4 separate regions of the Homo sapiens genome follow, and all the other regions are linked to region 4. Evidence: promoter capture Hi-C in 16 types of primary human blood cells and fetal thymus (Javierre and others, 2016). All regions are on one chromosome and are shown on one strand. The core of a region is centred on a gene start or on the middle of the fragment in contact, and the rest is flanking DNA. Distances in the headings are between cores, read along the strand shown.

Region 1 (3,111 bases), core at 584-3,083, 320 kb before region 4:
TCATTCCAACAAGTTCCAAGGCTGTATTACAGGGTCTCCTCCAATGTCAATCTTCACCCTCAACCAGTAGTTCATCTGGTGGAGTTTGCTTGCCAGGTGGGACAACCCAGACCTCTGTCTCCAAGATGTCTGAGTCCTTAGGTTGCCTTGGCATTTTGGGGCTTTGGATGCTGTAATTGTCTGTTTACCGTTATTGCTGGGCATGGAATACTGGGCATGGATTCACCATAAAGAGTCTCTTGAGCTCTCTGCCTCCATTGTGTTGTAGAACCCTAGCTTCTCAAGGTAACCAGAGTTGCATATGCTCACCTCAATACTCTTTACTTTGCATATTGGTCCACCAGTATGAGGATCCCAAAGAGAACAGGTAGGGGCCATAACTTGGGATCTTTAAACATCTCTTAGTGGAAAGGTCCCTTCCCATCTCACCCCCCATCCCAACAACCAGGACATCTAGTCTAGCAGAATCCAAGTGTGTGGATATAGGAAGCAAAAATCCCATAAGTAGGTCTGTGGCAGTGATGATAAGAAGGACTAATCTTATATTCATCTCTTGATTTTGTGACATGTGCATTGCAGCTACTGGGTACTCAGCACCATACACAAACTAGTATGCATATACGTCATCTTGAAGAAGAGCACTCAAACACTGCCAGTAGCCATCCTACAGCCAATGTCTTAGCTAAGTCTTTAATAGGCTATTTCACTTTTCTAGGCTAGCTGTGGACTAGTTGTGGACTGGTTGCATTCCTAGTCTCAGGTATTTCTTTATAGCAATGCAAGAATGGCCTAACACAAGACCCATATTTCTATGTCACCTACCTCTGTTCACCTCACACCTATGTCCTCACAGGGGGTTCTCTATGACCAACTCCCCCAAAAATATTGGGGCTTACTATATAGGTGCTAGCCCAAAGTGAACTGCTACTGCCATTTAGCTGGACTCAGAGGTGACCCACATAGGCAGTACCAGAGGGAAATCCTGTCAATGGGCATAGTTGCAAGCAGTGAATTTGATCATTTACTTTGTGTTGAGAGACAAGTGGCCTGAGGTTGGGATGAACACAGAAAATGACGTTTTTGGGTGATTAGAGTCTGTAAGAAGCAAGACTAAAACATAAAAGACATGGAATTCTGGGGGTGAGACATGTGGATGGGCAATGGGAGGGAGAACAAATCAGGCATGTCTCTGTTGCCTCACATTAATGCCCACCAGAGAAGAGGCACTCAACAACCAGGCAAAGAGGTCAACTTGTCACATGGATGTCAGCCAGGCTCTCTCCTCAGCCACCCTAGTGCTTGAAAAATGAGCCATTTATGGATGGAGGCTATGCCCAACAGCATAGACTCCCTCTTACCAAGGCTGGTCTAGCCACTGCCACAGCTGAGTGCCCAAACTGTTAGCAGGAGACACTCTACTAAACCCTTAACGTGGCATCATCACATGAGGAAACCAGTCAGCCACTGGGAGCAGGTTGATTACATCATAGCCCTTTTACCCTACAGAGGGGGAGTAATTACTCCTTATGGAACTGATAATACCTACTCTGGATATGGGTTCACACTGCCTGCCCTCCATACCTCTCCCAGCACTACACCTAAGGACTTGCAGGATGCCTAACTTACCAGCATGGGATCTTGCATAACATTGCTTCAGGACCAATGGACCAAATTTTTGGCAAAGAGGGTGCAGCAATGGGTGTGTGATCATAGGATACTTCTTTACCATGAACCACATCACCATTAAAACAGAATGGTATGGGCATAAGGACAGACATATAAACCAATGGAACAGACTTGTGAGCCCAGAAATAAAATCATCAATATTCAGTAAACAGATCTTCAACACGGGTTTCAAGAATACACAGTGAGGAAAGAACAGTTTCTTCAACAAATGATCTGAGGGACACTGTATATACACATGCAAAAGAATAAAATTGTGGCCTTATTTTACACTATACACAAATGTCAACTCAAAATCGATTGAAAACTTAAAGGTAAGACCTGAAACTAGATTGGTGATTACCAGGGGTAACTTATATAGAAAAGAGGTTTAATTAGCTCATGGCTCTGCAGGCTATAAAGGAAACATGGCACCGGCATCTGCTCAGTTTCTGGGATGGCTTCAGGGAACTTTTACTCATGGAGGAAGGTGAAGCAAGAGTACACATGGCACATGGTGAGAGAGGGAGCAAGGAGGTTGGTGTTGGGGAGATGCCATATGCTTTCAAACCACCAGATCTCATGAGAACTCACTCAGTATTGCAAGGACAGCACCAAACTGGAAGGAATCTACCCCATGACCCAAACACCTCCCACCAGGCCCCACCTCCAACACTGGGGATTACCTTTCAACCTGAGATTTGAGGAGGGACAAATATCTAAACTGTACCAGGTCTAATTGCTCGAAATTCTTAATTTGTGCTTCTTGGACTGCTGTTATGCTTTGGCTGTGTCCCCACCCAAATCTCATCTTGAATTGTAGTTCCTATAATCCCCATGTGTTGTGGGAGAGGCCCAGTGGGAGGGGGTAATTGAATAATGGGGGCAGTTATCTCCATGTTGTTTTCATGATAGTGAGTGAGTTCTCACAAGATCTGATGGTTTTATAAGGAGATTTCCCCACCTTTTGCTCTGTACTTCTCTCTCCTGCTGCCAGGTGAAGAAGGACGTGTTTGTTTCCCATTCCACCATGATTGTAAGTTTCCTGAGGCCTCCCCAGCCATGCTGAACTGAGTTCATTAAATCTCTTTGCTTTATAAATTACCCAGTCTCAGGTATGTTTTTATTAGCAGCATGAGAACAGACTAATACAACTGCCCAGGCCCCATCCTGAGTTGATCATTTCCATTGGGTATGATATATTACTACTGTCTGCACTCACCCTTCTGACATGGTGGATCTGATAATGCCCACATAATGATGTGTAATTCCAAATACACTAGGGCCCTGTAGCCTGGCAGACTCTGCTACTTCTCTGACAGAGAAGGATGGCCTGGTTCTACACACTGAGGGTTCTGGGATTCTTCTAGTTGTGACAGAGTCTAAAACCAGAGTCGTATGCACCACAGTATCTTTAGCATTGTCAGATCTGCTGGCTCATGGTCCCAA
Region 2 (3,397 bases), core at 872-3,371, 360 kb before region 4:
ACACACACACACACACACACGTTCATATGTACAGGACAGTGTATTTTGTAAATGTGTATTTTGCCTCATTAATGAGGTGGGTATGGCATAATAAGTAACAGCTTAGACTTTAGAGAGAGAGAATGTGTGTGTGTGTGTGAGAGAGAGAGATCTGAGTTCAAAACATGGCTATTTACTTGCCAGTGAATAATTTAACTTCTTTGTATGTTAAGATTAAGAAGGCAAAAATAAGAGAACATATCTTCTAGATCTCATGAGAAATGAAAGAAAATAATACATTGAAGATGGTTAGCATAGTGTCTGGCACTCAGTGTCTGGTACTGACATTCATTAAATGCTAGCTCTTATAATTATTAACACTGGAATTATACTCAGCAGTCTTAAAATGAATTGGTAGTGTTAACCATCAAACGCACTCAGCAGCAAAGTTTGAGAGTGGGAAACCCAGAATGAAGACTGATCTTGTCTATAAATCCACCAGGAAATGCTAAGTGCTACATTTCAGAATGGTTGACTTAGTAACTTAGAAAAATATTTTATGATAGATGTAAAATTAGATAAGGAGATTAAAAACAAGAACGTTTTTTAAAAAAACTCATTGATCTATTTATTCACATTTGTATTCAATAGTGTTTGAGGATCTAGTGCCCACCATGAAAAGTATGTGTGCTGAAGACATTAAGGAAATATCAGCTCTCATCTCTGTTCTCCCTTCAAGCCATCATTAAAGGAGAAGGATAGAACTAATATTTGTTTATTTAAAATTAATAAAAATGTAAATATTGAGTTACTTTCACTTTTTTTCATAACTATGGTAAATACAGATCTTAGTAAATAGAAATAGTCTTTAAAATTTCAAATGTATGGCCGAGCACAGTGGCTCATGCCTGTAATCCCAGCACTTTGGGAGGCCGAGGCTGGCGGACCATGAGGTCAGGAGATCGAGACCATCCTGGCTAACATGGTGAAACCCCATCTCTACTAAAAAAAATACAAAAAATTAGCTGGGCATGGTGGCACACGCCTGTAGTCTCAGTTACTTGGGAGGCTGAGGTAGGAGAATTGCTTGAACCCAGGAGGCCGAGGTTGCAGTGAGACAAGATCGCGCCACTGCACTCCAGCCTGGTGACAAAGCGAGACTCTGTCTCAAAAAAAAAAAAAAAAATTCAAATGTATCTAGTTGATGAACTGCCCATGCAAAATGGCTATTACTGCCTATTTTAGTAGACTGTAATCAAACCAAAATACATTACCTATAAACTAATAAACTAAATAATTTATTAAACTAATAAACTAAAATAATGTATTCATAAGATCCTAATTTATGTCTGATTAATCAAACCAAAATACCGTATATTACCTATAAACTAATAGGTAGACTGATTAATCAAACCAAAATACAACACATTACCTATAAACTAATAAATAATTTATTCTTAAGATTAATAAACTAATTTATTCATAAGATCCTAATTTATAAGTCATCTTCACTCAGAAATACAGCCCTAAGATTTATACTTCTACCAAGCTTCAGTTTGAATAGATGTACAACATTTAAACAAAAGCAGTTTAACTAAAAAGGGAAACATTCAAAATGACCTAGAAAATGGAAACTTTTCCTCTTTTTAGATCTCTGTAAGAAGGCTCACTTGAAGGTGAAATCAGCACCACCGTTTTTCACTCTTTCTTTCCAAAGCAGTGGTGGGGAGAACATTCATTGGACAAGGATGACAAGGACACCTCCTTGAGGGGTAGATGCATTCCATTACAGTGCAACTGGAATAGAATGGTTCAAATATCCCCTGGGTGGAAGGTAATTTGAAGGGGCTTTATATGGGTTTATTGGAGTAGAGGGAGGAACAGAAGATTTCTCTCTTGAACTTGGCCCATAAATCCATTTCCAATATGGGACACCTGCCTGGATACTGAGACAAAAGAAGGAAGCCTGGGCTAGCTGCTCCACTTTCAGGTGGGAGAAAAGGACCTGAGGACATAAACTTCCAAGAGCATGTCAATATCCTTTCTACTGATCTTCAATTTTGAGAATGTTGGAGCTTATTCTCTATCAAAGGAAAGTGTATTAAAACTTTTGAGTTAGGCTGGTCTAGAGAGATAACTGACATTGTGAGCAATAAGGTAAACTCTATCTTAGCCATCTAGAGGAAAAATTGGCTTAGGATTATGAAGCGATTATCATCCTGGGATCTGGATCCTATGGAGGGGACACCTGGTCCACACTCAGTGCTTTGGATCCTGGATTCCTGGGCCATTTAAGTTGAACATGGCTTCTGCCATTGGTGATCTAATAATCCAAAAGATTCCCTGGTCTTCACAAGCTGCCCAAATGATGTAACTGGATTACCAAAACTTCAAATACCCTTCCTGAAAGCTCAGATGTAACATCTGCTTCAGTTAATTTTGGTCCAGTGTGTGCACCTTCTTCTCCCAGGTTGTTGGGCTCTGAATTACTAACCACATATTTTGAGTTTTGTTTTCAACAGCAATAGTCTGGTTTTTCAAAGGACATGTGAGGTCTCTTCATTCCTTCCCCTAGCATTGTCTCATTTCAATATCCAGGTACTCAGGGGTATGGATCATGCTCTCATCTGCAGGGACATTTCTCTTTTATCTTTAGATTGTCTTTTCCTTCTACCTGTGAGGTTTTATTTTCATTTCTGTGTTAGGGTTCAGTCATTATTTTAAATTTAAGCTTTCTAATCTTTCAATCTTTGCATAATTTGTTTCCCAAGATGCATTCTTCCTCTAGAGAGTTTTGATATAATCCTTAAGTTTTTTTTTTTTTTTTTGGTCTTGTTCATCAAATGCAATATATATTTGGTTACTTTCTTCTTCAAGGGTTTATAAGGAAAGATTTAGCTTGGGAATATGAATCAGTTTCTTCAGAGCCCTTTTTTGAATGATCATTTTAATGATCTCCCATTGGACTCTCTCTTTCTGTTCAGCTCCCAGTGACCATTATCTATGCTAGATCTACTTTCTTTAGTACGCATCCAGTTAGGGACTTGATCTGACATTTTTCTTAAGGAGAATATTTTGCACACTTTCTTTAGAATGTTTAACTATTTTTGTTTGTGCATTTCATTCATTCTTTTTTTCCTACTTCAGCTTCTTGAAAAATAGTTTAGTTTTTCTAAACGTGAGAAATATCATATCTTTCTTCGAGGCTGTGTTGTTCTTCACTCTTGTCGTGTAACTTTAAAGCTGATTCTGGGCCGGGCGCGGTGGCTCACGCCTGTAATCCCAGCACTTTGGGAGGCCAAGGCGGGCGGATCACGAAGTCAGGAGATCAAGACCATCCTGGCTAACATGGTGAAACCTTGTCTCTACTAAAAATACAAAACAAAACAAAACTAGCTGGGCATGGTGGCAGGCGCCT
Region 3 (2,983 bases), core at 251-2,750, 260 kb before region 4:
CATGATCCACCCGCCTCGGCCTCCCAAAGTGCTGGGATTACAGGCATGAGCCACCGCGCCCGGCCGACTTTCTACTTTTCCATTTTTCCGAGTTTATTTTCACTCTCTCCAACTATCCCCAACTTCACTTAACTTTGTTCTCTTAATTGAGGTAACTGATTAAATGTGGTTAAATTGTATGCCTTTGTAAGACTTGTAATATCAACTCTTGCATAAATAAGGAGGCATGAGTTCTGGGAGCATGAGTCCCAGAACATGCTTTGGGAGATGGTTTATGGTGAGCCAGTTCAGAAGGCAGAGAGCAGTGTAGGCTGGCCTGGACAGGACTTTGTGTGCAAGGTAGGGAAATGTTGAGTCCTGAGAGGCCGTAACAGGAAGCCAGGCTCTAGACTAAGTTCTTTCCCCAACTGCCTTTGTGACCTTTGGCAGATCTCTTCTCTGCTCTTCTTAGCAGCAGCAGGAAGGGGCTAAAATAAATCATTTCCAAATGGATCCTTCCAGCTCTTGTATTGTGTGTGCCCTCTGATTCAGATAGTAGTGGATTAGCAGAACAAAGCAGCACCTTTTTGATGGAGCCATATTAAAGTAGCGTATCAAATTATCAAAACACTGCTATTTATTACTTAGTGATGTCTACAAAAGAAATCCCTGACATATCCTCTATGCTATGAGTAAGCCCTGCCCTGTCTCTCATCCTGTGAGCCCCATCATTTTGGGGCCTTGGCACCAAAATGTCAATATCAAAATAGTATGAGCCCTTTGGAAAATGCCAAGGCTTATAGTTCTATAGAACTGGGTTTGGATGGCAGGCTCAGTTGTTTACTTATCACTTGGCCATGTGACCTTGGGAATAAAGGATTTCAGCCTCTATTTCCTTATCTGTAAAACTAAATTATAATATGAACTCTGAAGATGTTGTTAGATTTAAAAATGAAATGTATAAAGCGCCAATGTGTGCCTCATCTTATAAGGAAAGGAAGTAAAGCTTAAAGCAGTCTAATACTCTCAAAATAATTTCCTAAAATAGAAAATAAGCTGTGTTTCACTAAAAAGATTTTACAACATGTTTTACATGTTGGGAGAATCTTGAGTTTCAGATGGGCTAATGGCCCAAATGGACTGGGAAGAGATCAAGGGCTCAGGTGGGAAGGAAAAGCGGAGATTAGATATTCAGACAGTCTGGACATGTACTGTATCACTTACCAGATATACAAAGAGCAGGGAATGTTTATGAAAAACAAGCCCCCATGTCTCTCATACTCCTATCCCTAGACCAGAGCCCTCGGTTCTGAGTCAGAGCTGAATATCAGCATTTAGCAGTGCTATTGCTCAACAGAGACAGGCACTACCGTGATGCAGCAAAATTACTCTCTGAGCTCTGTGGCATCTTGGCCTTGTGTGGCTGAGAGAAGTCTCAGGAAGTCTTATTTGTTGTTCTAAGTAGTAATCAAATTGGCTAAAAGGCCCAAAGGTGAAGTATATGTTGTTCCAACAGGAAGTTTTGGGACACTTGGTAAACTTTTTGAGGAATAAGATAATCTTGCAAAATTGGGCTGTCTGGTTACTGATTCCCAAGGCAGAACAAAGAAAGAGAGTGCTGGGATATGTATGTATGTTGTAGACAGGGTGGATGAAAACTGGCTGGATGATGATGATGGTAATGGTGATAATGATGGTGATGGTGATGATGGTGATAATGATAATTTTTGCAGAATCACAAGGGGAAAGAATGCATTTAAGTTCTAGAAAATTGTCTCAGTTTCCTTGCTACTATTTGATATAGTTCTTTACTCTCAGGAGAAAGTTTTGCCTAGGCAATTATCTCACTTTGAGTTTTCGAAGTGAAAATTGAATTGGGAAAAGTGCCATGGCTCACAGAGGATGGATCAGCCAACTCTGCTGTGACAGTTATTTAAAAATCTTCATAGAAGAGGGAATACTTCAACTGGTTCCTTAAAAATGAAGGTAATTTAGGAAGTAAAGAGGGGAGAGATTTTATTTTGTGCAAAGCTTGTAAAAAAAGGCATTGAATCATAAATTGAAATGGAATAGAGTCATAGGCCTAATCTGAACTGGAATTTCACAAGAAGACAATGAAGGCAGGAAATTAAGATATGAGATAGAGTGAAAGTAGACAGGTAAGTCTAGAAAGGCACTTAGATGCCAGCTGTGATGCCCAGCTGGAGAGTTTGGATTTTTATCTGTAAAATCTAGGATGGCCAAGAAGAAGTGTGTTTGCATTTTGTTTGTTTTACTTTATTAACCTGGGATAGGACCTAGTGACTTTGTTTTTAAAATATAACTTTGATGGAAGAAAGATGTTTAATCAATTGCACTGGGGACTAGTGGTCCGAAGACCATTTTGTAAGCTATTGCATCCCTTAAAGTTAACAGCCTGGTCCTAAAAGAAGAGAGAAGCAACGGAGTCAGAGAAAAGGGGCTAGAGTTCAGTCTTATAGTGTACACTAGATGACAGATCAGACCTAAGGATTTGGAATAAAATAGAGGGAGAATCTGTTGATGGCACCCAAGCTTCTCCTTTTGAAGGCAGAATACATGGTGACACCATGAACAGATGCAAAAACTAACCTCATTTTTTTCTGCATAAGTATTCTATTTACATGCTTTTGCTTACACAAGCAGAAGAGACTTATATACCTATTTTTTTTAAATGTGGGCCAAGATGTTTTGCTTCAAGAGGATAAGATAAGATCTGGTTCCAGCCTGCTCATCACATGTGCCACAGGCCACTAGCTGCTTATCAAAATTCATGGCCTCCTCCACTTCCTGGGCACACAACTAGACTGCATGTTCTGACTTCTGTTACAGTAAGGAGTGGCCCTGTGGTTGAGTTCCAGCCACCGGAATGTGAGCAGAAGTGATGTGCACTGATTGGAAGCTTGACCATAAACTCCATGAGGCATTCCTCCATGCTTTGCTTTCTCCTCTGGCTTGTTGGAATGGAGATAATCTCTGGTACATT
Region 4 (3,004 bases), core at 374-2,873:
TATTAGAAGGAGATAAGTGTTATCGAAATAAAACAGAGTAAGGAAAATTGGGAGCGTGCATTTATGATAGGAACCAAAAGAGGCTAACGAGTTGTAAGTGGATGATTTCAGCAAGGAATGAAAGGAACTGCAAAGCCCTCTGCGTGTAGAATTCATGACAAACTCTATGGTGGGGGCAAAGTCCTGTCGCTGCACATGGGTCTCAGCTGCAAAAAGAGAGTAGCCATGAAAAACTGTGTGTGTATATGCACACATACATAAACACAATAATAGATGATTTACAAATCATACATGTGATTTATACGTGTGTGTGATTTATACGTGTGTGTGATTTATAAAGCCTATGTAAGCCTACTTTAAACAGTGTGAGGTGGACAAGGCTTAAAACGGGCTGGAACATTTTCCCCCTATTATTTCCACAATAAACCATTCCTGGGCATGGTGGTGATGTGTGCGCGCGCGAGTGTGTGTTGGACAGCATCCCTTCCTTGGAACAGAGCCGGCCAGAGCCCTATTCTTCTACAACCTGTCCTAATAACAGCCTAACCTGGCAGGAACCTCGATTTTTTTCTTCTTACCACAAAAGCAAACCAAACCCCTTCCACAACCTAATATCATAGCGTGGTGTCCTTCCTCACTAATCCGCCACTGCTTCTCTAGTCCTGACTCCAAGGGAAGAATGCCATCTACCGAATCATCCGTACCAGTCAACCAGCCCCGCAAAGTGCAGCAACACTCAGCTCAACGCGGGTCAGCTCCAAATCCTCTCCCTCTGATTATTCTTTGGCCTTTAAAATATTTTTGCCTCTATTTGGGCTGACAGGAAGTTATGCTCTCGGCGCAGATATCTGATAAACACTTCCACATATTGTAGCCTTCTCAATAGCTTAGCCAAATTTCGGCGTCCTCGCTCTGTCTGCATTTTCCTTCATTGCTCTTTCACGTTTGGAATGCCCCCGTCTCTGCAGCCTGCAGACAGCGGAAACCGCGGGTGCAAATGTGCAGGGGCCGCTGACATGACCGGCTGCAGAAGCCCACTCAGGGTTACCCGAACAGGCTAGCGTTCGGGATTGCACAAGAGGTCAGGCGATGCTGTGGGCTTCCAAATTTGTACAGCTGCGACACTCTGCGACGTGCCACCCTATCCCCAGTGGGGTGGGGTGGGGGATTCCCTCCGCAGTCCGCTGAAAGCGAGGCAGGAATCACTGCAACTCCTCTGCTCAGGCTGAGGTCGCCACCGCTCCGCGGATGCACGCGCTGCAGGGGCGCCTTCCGCCGCGGGCACGGCGCGGGAAGGGATGGGGTCTGGTGGGAGTGGGCAGGTGGCGGGAGAGGCGCGTGTCCGTGCACTAGAGGCCCCCGTGCGTGACACAGGCCGATGAGCTCCTGCGGGCTGCACCCACGCGGAGTCACAGACCGAAAAGGTCAGCCGGTGGCCGGTGTGCTAACATATATAGAGAGACGCCCGCCAGGCGCGCCGCAGGCTGGGACGAGGCTAGGAGGGCCCAGGCTGGAGGAGGGCTGAGGAGGGCTGCGGGGGCGGGCCCCGGCGCAGGGCGCCCGGAGCGGAGGGGGCGGGCCCGAGGCGGGGCGGGCCGCGGCGCTGACGGGCTGTCGCCGCTGCACTCGCCTCCAGCCCGCGGTGTCGAGCGCAGGCGGAGGTACATGGCCCCGACGGGAGGCGCGCGGCGAGCACCCGGAGCTCGGCTCCCTGCCTGAGCACGGCAGCCGCGCCTCCGCCCGCGCGTCCTCGCCCCTCCGGCCGGCAGCCCGCGGACATGATCGTGTAGCCTCCTCCTGGGCTGGGATTTGTTTGAAGATTTTCTTCATGGAAGCGATGTCCCCCCAGCAGGAGACTCTAGGGGGACAGCCGGGGCGCTCCTCTTCCCTGACAGGAGTGTCTCGGCTCGCGGGAGGCAGCTGCACCAAGAAGGTGAGGACGCTGAGCGGGGGCCCGTGCCCTCCGCCGCCGCAGCCCCCACTGCCGGCGCGCGCCCTCCGCGCCCGCCACAGCAGCGCGCTAGGCGGACGCCGCGGGAATTTGACGCTCGAGGCTCGCGGCCCCTAATGAGAGTCCCAGAACACTTCCCGCCCTTGACGGCCAGCGGCAGCGCCGCCGCCTCCCGCAGAGCGCCCGCTTCTCCGTTTCTAGAGCCTTAGTCTCTCCTCGAGCGACCTCGCAGCCTCCCTCCCGTCTCCATCCGCCGCCGGTTCTGCAGCCCGGCTCCTCCCTCAGTCTAGGCGCGCGGGCTGTAGTGGGCGATCGCCTTTCCCCGACCCCTCGCCGTGCCCCTGGGCCTCCCGAAGTGGCCTGGGCGAGCACTGACTGCCCTTTGGCGGTGTCAGCCCCAAAGTCAGGGCCGGCGATGTCTGCCCGGGAGCGGCAGCCGGCGCTGAAGAAGGTAGGCAGCGGGGCTGCGGCGCTGGTGGGCTCGGCCCCCTCACCTGCCCGCCGAGGCGCGGCTGCTCCATAGCAGTTTTCGGGGGGCAGATATGGGGAGTACTGCCCCCCACACCAGGGTCCTGGATGATTCCGGGTCTCCCAGGTGGGGGTCACAGTTTGAGGGGCGACTGTGGATGATAACGCTCGACACTACGGGGACATGTAGGTTCGGCTGGGCCTAGAACCGAGCAGGGTGGGGGCGGGTGGGCTGTGGTTGGGGGTCCTGAGGGCTGAGGTGGGGGACCTTCTCCCTGCACTGGTCCCTGGCCCCTGGGACTCTGGCCGGGCTGGATAGGGATCCGGGTGTCGGTGTGGGCGTGGGGGCAGCGCGTGTTCCCTGTCAAAGCTGGGAGAGGGATGCAGGTGACAACTTGTAGCGTTCCATTCCGATAAACACGGCCGCTGTGCTGCGGGAGGATTCCGATCCGGGTCAGGTTTCGCTGGAACGGTTCCCTGAGCAAGTGCACGTGGGCCGCGGGCTGCCGGCCTCTGCCGTTTCGCTCCCTGAGGAATTGATTTGGGTGTTTCTAGCCCTGTCTGCCTGTCCCCCGCCTCCCCACC

What was found. The method cuts DNA at HindIII sites, captures the fragments that hold promoters and counts their contacts. A CHiCAGO score of 5 or more calls a contact.
Region 1: a contact is called between a fragment that was not itself captured here and the fragment with the promoter of ARHGAP20 in region 4, in 1 of 17 cell types (M2 macrophages). The highest score is 5.1, in M2 macrophages.
Region 2: a fragment that was not itself captured here is called in contact with the fragment with the promoter of ARHGAP20 in region 4 in 2 of 17 cell types (M1 macrophages and M0 macrophages); the score reaches 6.8 in M1 macrophages.
Region 3: a contact is called between a fragment that was not itself captured here and the fragment with the promoter of ARHGAP20 in region 4, in 1 of 17 cell types (M2 macrophages). The highest score is 6.7, in M2 macrophages.

Annotation. Positions count from the first base shown.
Region 1 is chr11:111,035,851-111,038,961 of GRCh38, reverse strand. No RefSeq gene overlaps it. Among named protein-coding and RNA genes, the nearest start is that of LINC02550, 60 kb to the left of the region's middle. The HindIII fragment of the contact is 4,083 bases long and covers 1-3,111 here.
Region 2 is chr11:111,073,536-111,076,932 of GRCh38, reverse strand. No RefSeq gene overlaps it. Among named protein-coding and RNA genes, the nearest start is that of LINC02550, 22 kb to the left of the region's middle. The HindIII fragment of the contact is 1,182 bases long and covers 1,531-2,712 here.
Region 3 is chr11:110,971,177-110,974,159 of GRCh38, reverse strand. No RefSeq gene overlaps it. Among named protein-coding and RNA genes, the nearest start is that of LINC02550, 120 kb to the left of the region's middle. RefSeq lists an enhancer at 2,542-2,711. The HindIII fragment of the contact is 1,025 bases long and covers 988-2,012 here.
Region 4 is chr11:110,711,056-110,714,059 of GRCh38, reverse strand. It overlaps ARHGAP20 (Rho GTPase activating protein 20), which reads left to right and starts at 1,623. Exons shown (of 15, transcript NM_001384657.1): 1 at 1,623-1,933. The coding sequence starts at 1,829. RefSeq lists silencers at 1,512-1,671, 1,692-1,751 and enhancers at 1,275-1,776, 2,759-3,004. The HindIII fragment of the contact is 6,153 bases long and covers 1-3,004 here.